5 separate regions of the Homo sapiens genome follow, and all the other regions are linked to region 1. Evidence: promoter capture Hi-C in human tissues and cell types (Jung and others, 2019). All regions are on one chromosome and are shown on one strand. The core of a region is centred on a gene start or on the middle of the fragment in contact, and the rest is flanking DNA. Distances in the headings are between cores, read along the strand shown.

The links. Contacts are between HindIII fragments. The study calls those that stand out against the background at their distance.
Region 2: a contact is called between a fragment that was not itself captured here and the fragment with the promoter of FADD in region 1, in 1 of the 25 tissues and cell types used here (H1 embryonic stem cells).
Region 3: a contact is called between a fragment that was not itself captured here and the fragment with the promoter of FADD in region 1, in 2 of the 25 tissues and cell types used here (lymphoblastoid cells and mesendoderm cells).
Region 4: a contact is called between a fragment that was not itself captured here and the fragment with the promoter of FADD in region 1, in 4 of the 25 tissues and cell types used here (heart left ventricle, liver, mesenchymal stem cells and 1 more).
Region 5: a fragment that was not itself captured here is called in contact with the fragment with the promoter of FADD in region 1 in 1 of the 25 tissues and cell types used here (H1 embryonic stem cells).

What each region holds. Positions count from the first base shown.
Region 1 is chr11:70,201,855-70,204,611 of GRCh38, forward strand. It overlaps FADD (Fas associated via death domain), which reads left to right and starts at 1,442. Exons shown (of 2, transcript NM_003824.4): 1 at 1,442-1,891. The coding sequence starts at 1,606. RefSeq lists silencers at 1,852-1,931, 1,981-2,172. The HindIII fragment of the contact is 27,989 bases long and covers 1-2,757 here.
Region 2 is chr11:69,981,153-69,983,909 of GRCh38, forward strand. It overlaps a transcript of ANO1 not described here. Among named protein-coding and RNA genes, the nearest start is that of LINC02753, 83 kb to the right of the region's middle. RefSeq lists enhancers at 18-740, 741-1,463. The HindIII fragment of the contact is 4,687 bases long and covers 1-2,757 here.
Region 3 is chr11:69,997,965-70,000,721 of GRCh38, forward strand. It overlaps a transcript of ANO1 not described here. Among named protein-coding and RNA genes, the nearest start is that of LINC02753, 66 kb to the right of the region's middle. The HindIII fragment of the contact is 5,000 bases long and covers 1-2,757 here.
Region 4 is chr11:70,036,053-70,038,809 of GRCh38, forward strand. It overlaps a transcript of ANO1 not described here. Among named protein-coding and RNA genes, the nearest start is that of LINC02753, 28 kb to the right of the region's middle. The HindIII fragment of the contact is 7,069 bases long and covers 1-2,757 here.
Region 5 is chr11:70,330,735-70,333,491 of GRCh38, forward strand. It overlaps PPFIA1 (PPFI scaffold protein A1), which reads left to right. Exons shown (of 28, transcript NM_003626.5): 9 at 1,226-1,360; 10 at 2,736-2,757. Among named protein-coding and RNA genes, the nearest start is that of MIR548K, 48 kb to the left of the region's middle. The HindIII fragment of the contact is 3,804 bases long and covers 1-2,757 here.

The sequences.
Region 1 (2,757 bases), core at 192-2,691:
GCTACTCAGGAGACTGAAGCAGGAGAATTGTTTGAACCCGGGAGGTAAAGGTTGCAGTGAGCCCAGATCGCACCACTGCACTCCAGCCTGGCCATAGAGCGAGACTCTGTCTCAAAACAGCAAAAAAAAAAAAAAAAAGAAAGAAAGAAAAAAAAAGTAGATTCGTGGTTGGTGGGGGAGGGGAGGAGTACATGCTAATGGGTTTCTTCTTGGGGTGATGAAAATGTCCTAAAGTTAGACAGCAGTAAGGGTTGCACAACCTTGTGACTACACTAAAAACCACTGAAGTATAACTTTAAAAGGGTGAATTGAATGGTATGTGAATTATATCTCAAGAAAACAAACTCAGCTGGCATCAGCCCCTGCCCCACCCTGTGGTAAAGCTGGGTCCTTGTTGGCTGGTGAGGGCTCTCCTAATCTGCACCCCCTCCTCACCTCCAGACCCACGGCATTGCTGCTCCTGGAACCCCAGCCGTCCCCTGTGCTCTGCTCTTCTGTTCTCCGTGTGCCCAGCTCTTCCCCCCACACCTAGGTACCCGGCCCCTCCCAGCCTTCACCTGCGCCTTTACAGAGGCCCCATCAGACCACCGGGCCCCCCACCCTCCACACGCCCACCCCGTGAAGAGACTCCCTTTCCCCTGGCTCTTCTGAATTTCTGGCATACTATACGATTTCCTTATTTTTCCTTATTTTTATTTTTTAATAGAGACGGGGTCTCACTATGTTACCCAGGCTGGTCTCGAACCCCTTGTCTCAATCAATCCTGCCTCAGCCTCCCAAAGTGCGGGCATTGCAGGCTGAGCCACCACGGCCGCCACGACCTTCTCTTCTGGAGCGTGTCGCTTTTGTAATTATGATGTAAACTCCGGGCACGCGGGGACCCTCGCGCTTCGCTCACTAATTTGTCCCCAGACCCTACTACCTGGCACAGTAGGCGCTCAATACTGTTGATTGAATAAACGACTGCTACTTTGGAAATCATGTATTATTTAAATCACATGTTTAAACGCACATAAACTTCTGAGTAGTGTTTTCTGCACACACAAGATGTCTCCAGGGGCACCAAAGAATGCATTTTCCACGTTTGTCCCTAAACGTTAATGCATAAGTAACCTTGGTCACCAACAGATGTGAGGGCACGTGACGTTCGGGCTGCGCCCTCCCCGCCCCGGCCCTGCACACAGTAGGGCCGCACCGCGCTTTGCAAACAGGTGGACTCGGCAGAGGCGCGACCGCCCTCACCGCAGAGAGCTGGGCCACCTGCAGGCTCTCAGGACACCCAAGGCCCCACCTCCCACCCGGAAAAGAGACGATACGCCGGGCGCAGGCGCAGAAGCCGCGCCCGTCCGCGGCGCCGCCAGCCAGGGCGGAAACGGCTGCGGCTTCGCTAGGGACGCATGCGCGGGTCCCTTAGTTTTCGCGAGATAACGGTCGAAAACGCGCTCTTGTCGATTTCCTGTAGTGAATCAGGCACCGGAGTGCAGGTTCGGGGGTGGAATCCTTGGGCCGCTGGGCAAGCGGCGAGACCTGGCCAGGGCCAGCGAGCCGAGGACAGAGGGCGCACGGAGGGCCGGGCCGCAGCCCCGGCCGCTTGCAGACCCCGCCATGGACCCGTTCCTGGTGCTGCTGCACTCGGTGTCGTCCAGCCTGTCGAGCAGCGAGCTGACCGAGCTCAAGTTCCTATGCCTCGGGCGCGTGGGCAAGCGCAAGCTGGAGCGCGTGCAGAGCGGCCTAGACCTCTTCTCCATGCTGCTGGAGCAGAACGACCTGGAGCCCGGGCACACCGAGCTCCTGCGCGAGCTGCTCGCCTCCCTGCGGCGCCACGACCTGCTGCGGCGCGTCGACGACTTCGAGGCGGGGGCGGCGGCCGGGGCCGCGCCTGGGGAAGAAGGTGGGCGCGGGGCCGGGCCGGGGGAGCCAGGGCCTGGTCGCCCGGCTGTAGGTGCTGCGAGGCTCCTCCGGTTGGCCTCCAGGCGCCTCCCCTTTGCCGGGTTTGATTTGCGTGGGTTTTCTCCGTACAGCCCTGGTTTTGCAGATGGGAGAGCCAGAAACGCAGAAAAGTTAACTTATTCGAGGTTGCAGGGCGTGGACACGCACAGTCCTTTTTCCTCCACCCACTTCTGCCCGGGTAAATTAGAAAACTCACTGAAGAAAAGATGAGTCAGAGAAGGTGTGGGGGAGGGGCAGAGGTTGGGTGAGCCTGCCTCGCATCATTTCCTTTCTGTCTCGGAATATGCTTTTCACGGCTGTCTGAGAGTAATACTAGCATTCAGTAACTCCTACCCAGGGGCTTACAGTGTGCCGCTTACCCTTGTAACTGCCAAATACAATTTTCGCAGTAGCCCTGTGGCTTAGATACTGTTAGCTATCACTGTTCCCATTTTACAGAGGACAGGACTGTGGCTCACAGGTTAAGTGGCTTTGTCGAAATGCGCAGCCGATAACTGACGGAGCTAGGCTTGAGCCAAGCAGTCCGGCCTCCGGATGGGTAGTGTTAGCCACTACACTGCCTCTCTGGTCAAGTTCATTGTGGAGTGGCTTCCTGTCCTGCTCTCGGTCACTCCCTCTCCACCCTCGCCTGTGGATTGCAGCAGCTTCCAGGATAAAAAAGAAACCCTGAGTACAGCAGAGTTTCTCAGCCCTACCCCCCTTGTTCTCAGAGTCGGGAGAGGCTTGGGAGTGCTCTGGGGACGCCTCTCAGAGGCTTCAAGCTGTAGCTTGGAATCAGCCATTCAGTCACCAATCAGATAGGGCCTA
Region 2 (2,757 bases), core at 258-2,757, 220 kb before region 1:
CAAACCAGGGACATGGAGCTTGGAAGACTGGCATTTTGGGAAACGCTGTGTTTCTACCTTACGGTAGCAGAGCACAAACTCTGGAGCTGGGCTGCTTATGTGCAAGCCCCACTCTCCCACTTACTGCTGTGTGACCTTGGGCAAGTCACTTCACCTCTCTGAGCCTCTGATTCCTTATCTGTAAAGTAGGAATGATAGGAGCACGTACTACGTAGACTTGCTGCACGGATTCGATGAGCCGATATTTATTAAGCGCTTGGAACGGGGCCTGGCACACAATAAGTGCTCTCTAAGTGTTTGTTAAATAAACAGACTTGCCTAAGGAGAAGCCCAGGCAGAGATCTTGCCTCTTCTGTCCAAGGGCCCCTCTGCAAGTTTAGCCTGCTTCAGCTGCAGGTCCTCTGTATCAGAGCGGAGGACTGTCACTCCAGCAACAGCGCTTTGCTGCTGGGAGCCCCTGGTATCAGTGGTGAGCAGCTGCCTCGGAGGCTGGGCTGACAGCAGCTGCCTCCAGCCCTCCTCTCCCGCTAGCCCTGCGCAGCCACTGAGCTCTCTGCCCAGCCCCACCCCAGCCCCTGCAGGCGCCTTTGTGGGCTCTCTCTAGTCCCTTCCAAAGACCCTTTGGAAACAGTCCAAATGGCTATCCAAGAAGAAATGGATAAACAAATTGTAGTACACCCAGACCATGGAATATTATTCAGCCATAAAAAGAAATGCGATTCTGATACATGCTATAATGTGGAGCAAACTCCAAACATAATGAAAGAAGCCAGACACGAAAGACCATGTAATGTATGATTCCATTTATATGAAATGTCCAGAATGGATAAATCCATAGAGACAGAAGGCAGGCCAATGGTTGCCAGGGACTGGGGGAGGGGGGAGATGGGGAGTGACTGCTAGCGGGTTCGAGCTGTACTCTGCGGGAATGGGAATATTCTGGATAGAAATGTGGGTGCTCAACACTGTGAATGCACTAAATGCCACCGAGTTGAACACTTAAAAATGATCAATTTTATCTTATGTGAATGTCACCCCAGTGAATTGTTTAATTACAATAAGACCCCCTTAACCCTGTTGAGTATAGCCACCAGGGGCCCCCGTTACTCGCCAGATGCCCCACCTGAACCTGCTACACTGGGCTGCTCCCATCCCTGTCTGGGTGCCCACTTCTCCACCTTGGTGCTTCCACCCAGCCTCTGCCAGAACCCCCTAAAAGTCACCGTCCACCTTGAAAAACCCACCCACTCTCCGGTTGCCCCAGGGCAGGGGCCACCAAGAGCTCCAATCGGCTCTTCTGGGAGCAGCCTCCACCTGCATTTCAGTGTTCTACCATGTTTCCCTGTCTGACTAGGATGAATATGATGCAAATAATAATGCCCTCTAATCCCTACAGCATGTCAGGTTTTGGGCTGGAAGCTGAATTCTTGTCCTATCCCTACAGAATTCCAACCTGTTGCCAAGACCCATTTTACAGATGCACAAACCCGGGTGCTGAGAAGAAGCTTGTTCCAGACGGGACTGACTCTGTTAGGCTGCAGAGGCCATAGGCCCGGCTTCTGCACCAGCTTGCTCACTCCTCCAGGCTGGAGGCTGGACCTGGAGGGCTGGGGCTTTGTTTTGCTCCCTTTGCGCCTCCCATTCCCCTTCCAACCTGAGAAAGGGCTCTACCCATGGCAGGCATTCAAAGAGCCAAGCCGAACTGAAAACAGACTTCCTGAGATCATGCGAAATCAGCATTTAAATGACCTGTGGCCTTGTATGTGTTCTGATGATGAGTGACAGTGGGGGCAGGGTGTACGTGACAATCTATCCTGTCCTGAGTCATCTGAGGGTCCAGAGAAGGTCAATGAGGAAAGGAGAAATGCACAGAGGGAGGCGTGATTGCAGGTGGTGCGCCTGTGGGCCGAGTCAGCTCTGAGCTGACATCTGCTGAGACCCAGCAGCATTGGGGAGCAGAGGAGACCTGCATGATGGTGCTGGTGGCCTTGATGAAACCACAGCAAGATCAGAGTCCCTGCAAGTCCCCAGCATCTGATCATGCTCCGGCTTGGGGTAGGTCTGTGCCTACCCCCAAGCCAGGCCCAAGGCCTCACCCTACGAAACCTATTTTAAACCCCGCCCAATTCAGGGGATGAGTACCAGTGCTGGCCTCACCAAGAGCTGCCTTCTCTCCCTCCCTCGCCGCCTCGCCAAAAAGGGAAACCATTTTTCTGTAATTACAAGCATTGTGCTGTGTGATTACTGTATTCCGTAATGACGGCTGTGTGTTGTAATGACAGGCACGCCACCTCCCCGAGCCAGTGCACTGGCCCCACTCTGCTGTTGACATAAATATCTTCCTGCCATGCCCAGGGTGTCGGGGAGGCCCTCAGCTTCAGAGGGTCTGCAGCGTGGGGTTCCCCAGAAAATAAGCAGGGTGCTCCGGGTGCTCCTCTTCCAGGCCACCCTCTCCTGCGGGCCACATGGGCAGCCCAGCCTTCCCCAGCCTGGCATCACTATCACGTGATGCCACTTACCAAAATAGCAGCCGAGAGCAATCTTTTTAAAAATGAGCTGGTTCAGGTATTTACTAAAATATCACTTTTAAACGTCTGGGTCTTCGACTGGCATTTTTGCATATGTTGGCCACAGCTGAAGGGTTTCATCCGAACGCAACTTAATTGGAGCCAAGAAAATGAAAAGAAGAAAAAGCGGCTTCAATCGGAATGAATCAACATCTATTAATGGCTGTTTAACATATTTCTGCTAATAATC
Region 3 (2,757 bases), core at 187-2,686, 200 kb before region 1:
CTTCAATATTTCTTTATAGCAGTGCGAGAATGGCCTAATACATCCTTCCCAGAGCATCTTTCTCCACGCCTCCTCCTCATTCTCTTGGCTTAAAAGTCACCTGGACAGAGACCCTCCTGGACCACTCCATCCAGCTGTGAGCATGCATTCAGCACACTCCTCACACGGGTTTCTCTCCTGTATAGGACTTTGTAACTAGGTGTTTTAGACTGAGCTGTAATTTACATACAGTAAAATGTCCAGATCTTAAGTGAACAATTGGATCAATTGTAACACAAATCTAAACATCTACACCCCATTAAGATATAAAATAGCTCCATCACCCCAGAACGTGGCCTCTTGCCCCTTCCCCACCAATCCCCCCGCCCCATTGCCCCATGGCATAATTCTGCCTATTCTAGCTCTTCCTATAAATAAAAGCATGAGTGCAGATTCTCCTGTGTCCAGCGTCCTCGGTTCAGGGGAAATGTTTTGGTGTTCATGAGTAGTATGTCCCCCAGTGCCCCATTGTGTGGGCGTCCTCATGGGGTATCCATTCTTCTAGGAAGATCCTGGGGCTGTTTCCAGTTCGAAGCCATTATTAATAAAGCTGCAAGGAAGAAATATTTTTATGGATGTGTGTTTTTATATCTCTGATAAATATATTCAACTGGAATCATTGGGTGTATTAGGCCATTCTCCCATTGCCAAAAAGAAATACCTGGCCAGGCGCAGTGGCTCACACCTGCAATCTCAGCACTTGGGTGGCTGAGGCAGGTGGTTCACCTGAGGTCAGGAGTTCGAGACCATCCTGACCAACATGGCAAAACCCCATCTCTACTAAAAATACAAAAATTGGCTGGGCGTGGTGTCAGGTGCCTGTAATCCCAGCTACTTGGAAGACTGAGGCAGGAGACTCGCTTGAACCCAGGAGGTGGAGGTTGCAGTGAGCCGAGATAGCACCATTGCACTGCAGCCTGGGCAACAAGAGCAAAACTCTGTTTGAAAGAATAAAAGGAATACCTGAGCCTGGTGAGCCAAGATTGTACTACTGCACTCCAGCCTGGGTGACAGAGTGAGACTGTCTCAAAAAAAAAAAAAAAAGAGATTTTTTAAAAAGAAAGAAAGAAAGAGAGACCTGAGTCTGGGCAATTTACAAAGAAAAGAGGTTGAATTGGCTCACGGTTCTGCAGGCTGTACAGGAAGCATGGCGGCATCTGCTCAGCTTCTGGGTAGGACTCAGGAAGCTTACAATCATGGAGGAAGGCGAAGGGGAAGCAGGCATATCATATGGCCAGAGCAGGAGCAAGAGAGACAGCATGGAGGTGCCACACACTTTTAAATAACTGAATCTCATGAGAACTCACTTACTCTCATGAGGACAGTACCAAGGACACACTATTAACCACGCTTGAGAAACTGTCCCCATGATCCTATCACCTCCCACCAGGTCCCACCTCCAACAGTGGGGACGACATTTCGATATGAGATTTGGGCGGGGACAATGTCCAAACTATATCACTGTGTTATGACATAGGATGAAAGCGCCTTTAATGATTTAAGAAACTCCCAAACAATTTGCCAGAGTGCTTTGCTAGGTTCCGTGCTCACCAGCAGCATCTGAGAACATAACAGGATTCTAATGTGTTGGCTTTACGCACCATCTGGCCCTCCTCACCCGCTAACATAAACGCCAGGGGAAAAGGGCCATGTCTCTTGGGCTCATCTCTGAATCAATGCCTAGCACAGGGACTGTCACTTACTAAGTGCTCAATAAACATTTGCTGAATGAATGAGGCATTTGTACTGCAGCTTTTCTTTCTGCTGCAAATTGGCCAGGGACCCACGTGCCTTACTGAGGATCAAACAGGCTGGGGTTCCTATCCTTTTGTGAATGTGGAGGCATTGGAGGCAGGAGGGAGGGCTATCACATGGCCACCCTGGGGAGTGTCTGATGAGAGTACTAGGGGTTTCCCTAGCACTGGGAAAAAGGGAAGGGAGGCCCCAAAGAGTTCTATTCAGAGCACGGCCCATACTGCTTTATTGTGAAAGTTTCTGAGCCAGGTGTAACCAAATGCTCGCTGCTGCCAAGATAAAGTCTCAGGAAGGAACTTACAGAGGACTCCCAGGGGAATTCCCATAAGAAAACCTTTGTAACTGCAACCAAGTGAGGTCACTTTTTGGATGGAGATAATAAAGTGGGGACATAGCTACCCAAAATGAGCCCTTGGGAAAAAAAATGAACGGAGAGGTTTTCTTTTTGCCTGTAATTAGCTAGATGTTTCATTTGTGTGTTTGAGGCACTCACAGAGGAAGAAAATGGAATGTGACATCTGCTTTATAAGGGAAAGCTTGTTAGTGAAAGATAGAGATGGGCCGGGGGGGGATGCACACTCCCCACCAATCTAAAAGTCATGTCAGGTCACTAAAAAGCATTTTAAAGGAAAAGGCCTGATAAGCATAAGAAAAGGCACTCAAGTTCATTAGTCATCAGGAAATGCAAAGCAAAACCACCCTGAGATTACCATCATACACCCACCTGAGGGGCTGAAATTTCAAAGCGCATGAGATACCGAGCTTTGGCAAGAACATGGAGCAACTGGAACCCTTGCCTACTGCTCATGGGTGTGGAGACTGATACTCTGGAAGACTGATAGGCAGATTTACTATTGAACAAACACATAGTCTGTGGCCCAGCAAAGCCACCCCTGAGCAGTTACTCAACAGAAATGCACACACATCCAAAGCCATGAGTGAAAGTGTCCCCAGTAGCATTGT
Region 4 (2,757 bases), core at 74-2,573, 170 kb before region 1:
TCCTGAGACTGTTGTAACAAACCACCATCAACTGGGGGCCTTCAGCAACAGAAATTTATTCCCTCACCATTAGGAGGCCAGAAGTCCAAAATCAAGGTGCCAATCAGGCCACACTCCCTTGGAAGGATCTGGAGTAGAATCCTTCCTTGCCCCGTACAGTCCCTGGTGACTCCAGGTGTCCCTTGGCTAAGGCACATCACCCCAATCTCTGCCGCTGTCTTTACCTGGCCTTTTCCTCTTCTACCTGTGTCTCTCCTCTGTGTGTCCTTTACAGTTGTCCCTGGATTTGGGGGTCACTTGGATAATCCAGGGTGATCTCATCTTGAAATTCCTAATTACTCTATAAAACCCTCATTTCAAATAAGTTCACGGTCACAGGTTCTGAGGTTAGGGCATAGGCTCAGTTTTCTGGGGTACTGCTCAGCCCACTGGTAAGGAAGGCCTGCTCGGTGACTCTTCCTCCTTGACAATAAAGACAAAAAGGGCTGAGGACCCTCTCTCTTCTATGCTGGCCCTGATGTCTGACTGTGTGTGGTTTGTTTGTGTTTTTGTTTTGTTTTGTTTTGTTTTTTTAAGACAGAGTCTCGCTTTGTCGCCCAGGCTGGAGTGCAGTAGCACGATCTCGGCTCACTGCAAGCTCCACCTCCCGGGTTCATGCCATTCTCCTGCCTCAGCCTCCCAAGTAGCTGGGACTATAGGCACCCGCCACCACACCCGGCTAATTTTTTGTATTTTTAGTAGAGATGGGGTTTCACCGTGTTAGCCAGGATGGTCTCAATCTCCTGACCTCGTGATCTGCCCGCCTCAGCCTCCCAAAGTGTTGGGATTACAGGCGTGAGCCACCGTGCCTAGCCTGTATGTGGTTTTTTACATGCCTGCCTTTCTCTCCCGAGGCTGGGGCCATGTCTCAGGCATGTCTGTGTGCTCAACATCTCAGGCAGCAGCTGTGCCTGACTGTCACTCAATAAACATGTGTGCAACGAACAAATGAATGACTTGTAGGGTTCCTTCCTCTCTCATCTGTCGGCCTTTAGTGCCATCCATCTTCCCTAACACAGAAGTCCCTGCCTTCAAGAGGTACACCCAGGTGGAAGTGCCTCTCGGAACTCCACCCTGAGAAATCCAGCTTAGGCGGCCCAGCCTGTTTTGCTCCTCCTGATTGAGATTTGCAGGCAGGGAAGGACAGGTGTGACAGGGACCTGGGCAATACTCAGTGGAGCAGGGCAGGTGGGGGTTTGGAATTGGTCTCAGGAGCTGTTGGGAACTGTGGAGAAAGAGAAGAATTGGGATTTGGGAATAGTTAATGTATAGGGGTGGTTGGAACAAATGAGCAAGATATGATTACAAATGGGGCTATGGAGGACCAAGCTCACCTTCTGAGGACACCACACGCAGAAAGCAAGCAGAGAAAGGAAAGGCAGGAGACCATCGCGGGGCAGAGGGAGGCCCAAGCATGAAGGTGGGTCACAGACGCCAAGGAAGGACCCAGGTGGCCTAGTGGGAAAACACAACCTTCAAGGGCAAGCCAGCATGGATGCAAACCTGCCTCTACTGCATGACAGCTGAGGGGTCCCTGGGAGAGGCGCTCCCTGAGCCTCAGCTTTGACTTCTGAAAAGGTTGCTTGAAGACTTGAAACTCTATACCCGAAGCACCTCATGGAACAGCTGCCAGGAAACCCGGTTTTTTCTGCTTGTTGAGTACTCACTAGGCGCTGGGCTCTGGGCAAGTAGTTTACCACATAGTCATTTGACTCTCACATCAACCCCTGGGATGAGCACAATTACTGCCATTTGCAGCTGGGGAAACTGAGGCAGGTAAGAAACTTGTCTATGGTCACTCATCTTATTCCATGGCAGGGTCTTGAATTACAACCCAAGGAGAAAGCAGTGAACTGCTACTCCTGCTGCAAAGAAAAGGTGAGTGAGCATGAGGATTAAAACGTGACTGTCGTGGCCAGTCGCAGTGGCTCATGCCTGTAATTCCAGCACTTTGGGAGGCTGAGGCAGGAGGTTTGTGTGAGGAATGGAGAAGTTCTTCTTCAAAGTTTCTTAAAACCATAAAGAGCTTGTCATTTCTTTGCTCTATGCATATCTATATATGTTCCAATGCAGCTGCTCTGACTTGACCTGGCATTCTTGGACAAGGTTAAGCAAGACCCAGACCATAGTGCATGCCATTCCTTATTTGGAAACCCTCCTGACCCTCTCATGACTAGCTTCCTCTTTTCTTTGTTCTCTTTCCCCTTTGCCTATTTAGAAAAGTTTCAAGCTGTTAGCCAATCGGGTCAAGCTTAGAATGTGAGGTCCCATTCCGACCAATGGAAATGTGACACAGCCATAGGACAATTGCATCAGGTTACAAAGATTATAAACATCCCCATCTCCTTTGTTCGGGTGTGCTCTCACGGCAAGACTGCTAGTGAGCAGCACCCTTTCTGCAGAAAGTAAACTAGCCTTGCTGAGAGATCCTTTGTCTCAGTGTTGATTTTGCGACACCGAGCACCCATTTCCAACAATTTGGTGGGCCATACAGGGACTCTGTTTCCCCTCTGGGACAGTCCTTGGTCCTCTCTTGTGGGGAGGTGCCCTGCCACCCTATTGCAGTGGCCCCCAGGGAGAGAGCCAGGACTTACCTGGTGCAAGAAACACATTTGGATTCTCAGCAATGCAGGGGAGAAGGAGAGACTTTCAAAACCGCAGGACCAGAAGACCTCGTGCATGAGCCAAGGTAGGAAAAACCTCAGAGGAGCAGTAAAG
Region 5 (2,757 bases), core at 258-2,757, 130 kb after region 1:
TCGCTTGAGCCCAGGAATGTGAGAACAGCCTGTCTCTACAGAAAATTAATAAATTAGCCGGGCATGGTGGCATGTGCCTTTAGCCCTAGCTACTCAGGAGGCTAAGGAGGGAGGATGACTTGAGCCCTGGAGTTCAAGGCTTCATTGTGCTATGATTGTGCCACTGGACTCCAGCCTGGGCCACAGAACGAGACCCCGTCTCTAAAATAAAAAATGCGGCCAGGCGCGGTGGCTCACACCTGTAATCCCAGCACTTTGGGAGGCCGAGGCAGGTGGATCATGAGGTCAGGCATTTGAGACCAGCCTGACCAACATGGTGAAACTGCGTCTCTACTAAAAATACAAAAATTAGCTGGGCTTGGTGGCGCGCATCTGTAATCCCAGCTGCTACTCAGGAGGCTGAGGCAGGAGAATCGCTTGAACCCAAGAGGCGGAGGTTGCAGTGAGCCGAGATTGTGCCACTGCACTCCAGCCTGGGTGACACAGCTAGACTCCGTCTCAAAAAAAAAAAAAAGGCAGTGAAGTCTGTAGTAAGAAATTGGGTCTCCTGTGGTTTCGTAAACCATACTTATTCTTGTAATTACGAGTATCACTGTATTCCAGCCTGGGTGACAGAGCAAGACTCTGTCTTTAAACAAACAAAAAAAAAGCTTCTTAAAAGTTATTTAGGAAAAGCAAACACTTTGACAAGAGGTGTTTTGCACATTGAAACCAAGACCAGGAAAGTGGGCATGTACTCCTGGCAGCAAGAAAACCTTACCCAGGCCGGGCACAGTGGCGCACACCTGTAATCCCACCACTTTGGGAGGCTGAGGCGGGTGGATCACTTGAGGTTAGGAGTTCAAGACCAGCCTGGCCAACATGCCGAAGTCCTGTCTCTACTAAAAATACAAAAATTAGCCAGACCTGGTGGCACATGCCTGTAATTGCAGCTACTCAGGAGGCTGAGGCAGGAGAATTGCTTGAACTCAGGAGGTGGAGGTTGCAGTGAGCCAAGATTGTGCCACTGCACTCCAGCCTGGGTGACAAAGCGAGACTATGTCTCAAAAACAAAAACAAAAACAAAAACAAAAACAAAAACCTGACCCAGAAGCAACTCCCATCACTGTAGCTCTTCCATCATGACTCTCTTAGTCTGTATCTGCATTTCAGTTTGTTTCAATCTGTTAAAAACTGATCAGCTAGAAGATTTGTTGCATTTTGATGCTTTGCTCTCATTTTATAGACTGAAGATAAAAACCGCCAGTTACAGGAGCGCTTGGAATTGGCAGAGCAAAAGCTGCAACAGACACTGAGGAAGGCAGAGACGCTCCCGGAGGTGGAGGCGGAGCTGGCCCAGAGGGTGGCAGCGCTTTCCAAGGTAGTGCCATGAGCTTCATTCTGGTTCGGCTGCCAGGCCTGTGACTGTGCCTTGCCTGTGTACCTTGTTTGTCACTGTTCTTATTACATCAGCACCTAAATCCGTGGAAGAGCACGGATTTGGTTTGAGTGCTCTTTCATCTGAGATTGGAACACTTTGTAAATGCCAGACATGATCCTTTTATCCCGAAGTCTACCTTGGTTTTGTGAGCTGTATACTATTTGTCCACGGCATGTGTGATCTGAGAGTTACTGCTTCTTAGAATTGTTTTGGTCACCAGCTTAAGCATAGGATAGAAGTCTCTGTAAAAGAAGGGTAGTTTTTCTCAGAAATAGGAAGATGCCGTTCTTTTAAAAACACCATCAAGATAAATTCTTCATAAACACATTTTTAAGTAATTTTATTATTTTGAAATTACTTAAAAATGTATTTTTAAGTAATATTTATTATTTTGAAATTACTTAAAAATGTGTTTTTAAGTAATATTTATTCATTTGTCCAACAACTGTTGACTAGGCATGTGCAAGACACAGTCCCTCCAAGTTCTCCCCATTCATGAGGGAAGCAGCTAAAGAGGCAAATGCTGTCATAGGTCCTGGGATCGGCGAGTACCCAGGGAGCGCATCACCGGGCACAAACCCAGCCTCTGGGGCGTGGGGAGCCCAGCACTGCAGTGCCAGGCAGGCGAGCAGCAGGAGCTGAGGCCCCTGTCTGTCGTCCTGAGTCTTCTTGCTCAAGCTTTTCAAGCTGCTGGGGAGGGCATCCTTCTGGACCATTCAGATGGTTTTAGGGCTCACACACCTGTTCCTTCTAGCAAGTTTGTTGCTAACAGCTGTAAGAACCTATCCTCCCACTCCATGATCTGCTTTTAAAGTCTCGATTTCTTTTCTCCCCTGTTATCTTTCCTGTCCCTTGTCGGCTTTGTAGTCTGACCTTTTGTCTTCTGGGAGCTCTGCTGCTAAGGAAGCTAAACTGTTGGAACTTACTTCCAAGCTTAGGAAGGTAGAATGGGTGCACTGCTCCTTGCTTGTGCTTGCCGCTGCTTTCTGCTTTCCATGCTTACTAACCAGAAGCAGTCCAAGGATGGGAGAATCACGACTCCATTGAGATTGGGCATAGGGGTTGGGGGGAAAACACCCAGTCAGTCGCCAGCAGCAGCCATGCTTCAGAATCACCAACACAAGAGGGCTAGCCACCTCATGGCCCAGCACGTGAAGCCCCGTAGGCTGTGTTGATGGATGAGTACATGCTTTCCATTTAGTATGGCGGAGCAGCCCACGCAGAGCATGTTGTGCCTGTTGCCACTGCAGTGGTATGCAGCATGTCGTTAATGAAGTGTAAGGATGACGTCAGCGTACGCTGTTTCTGCTGACAGGCTGAAGAGAGACACGGCAACA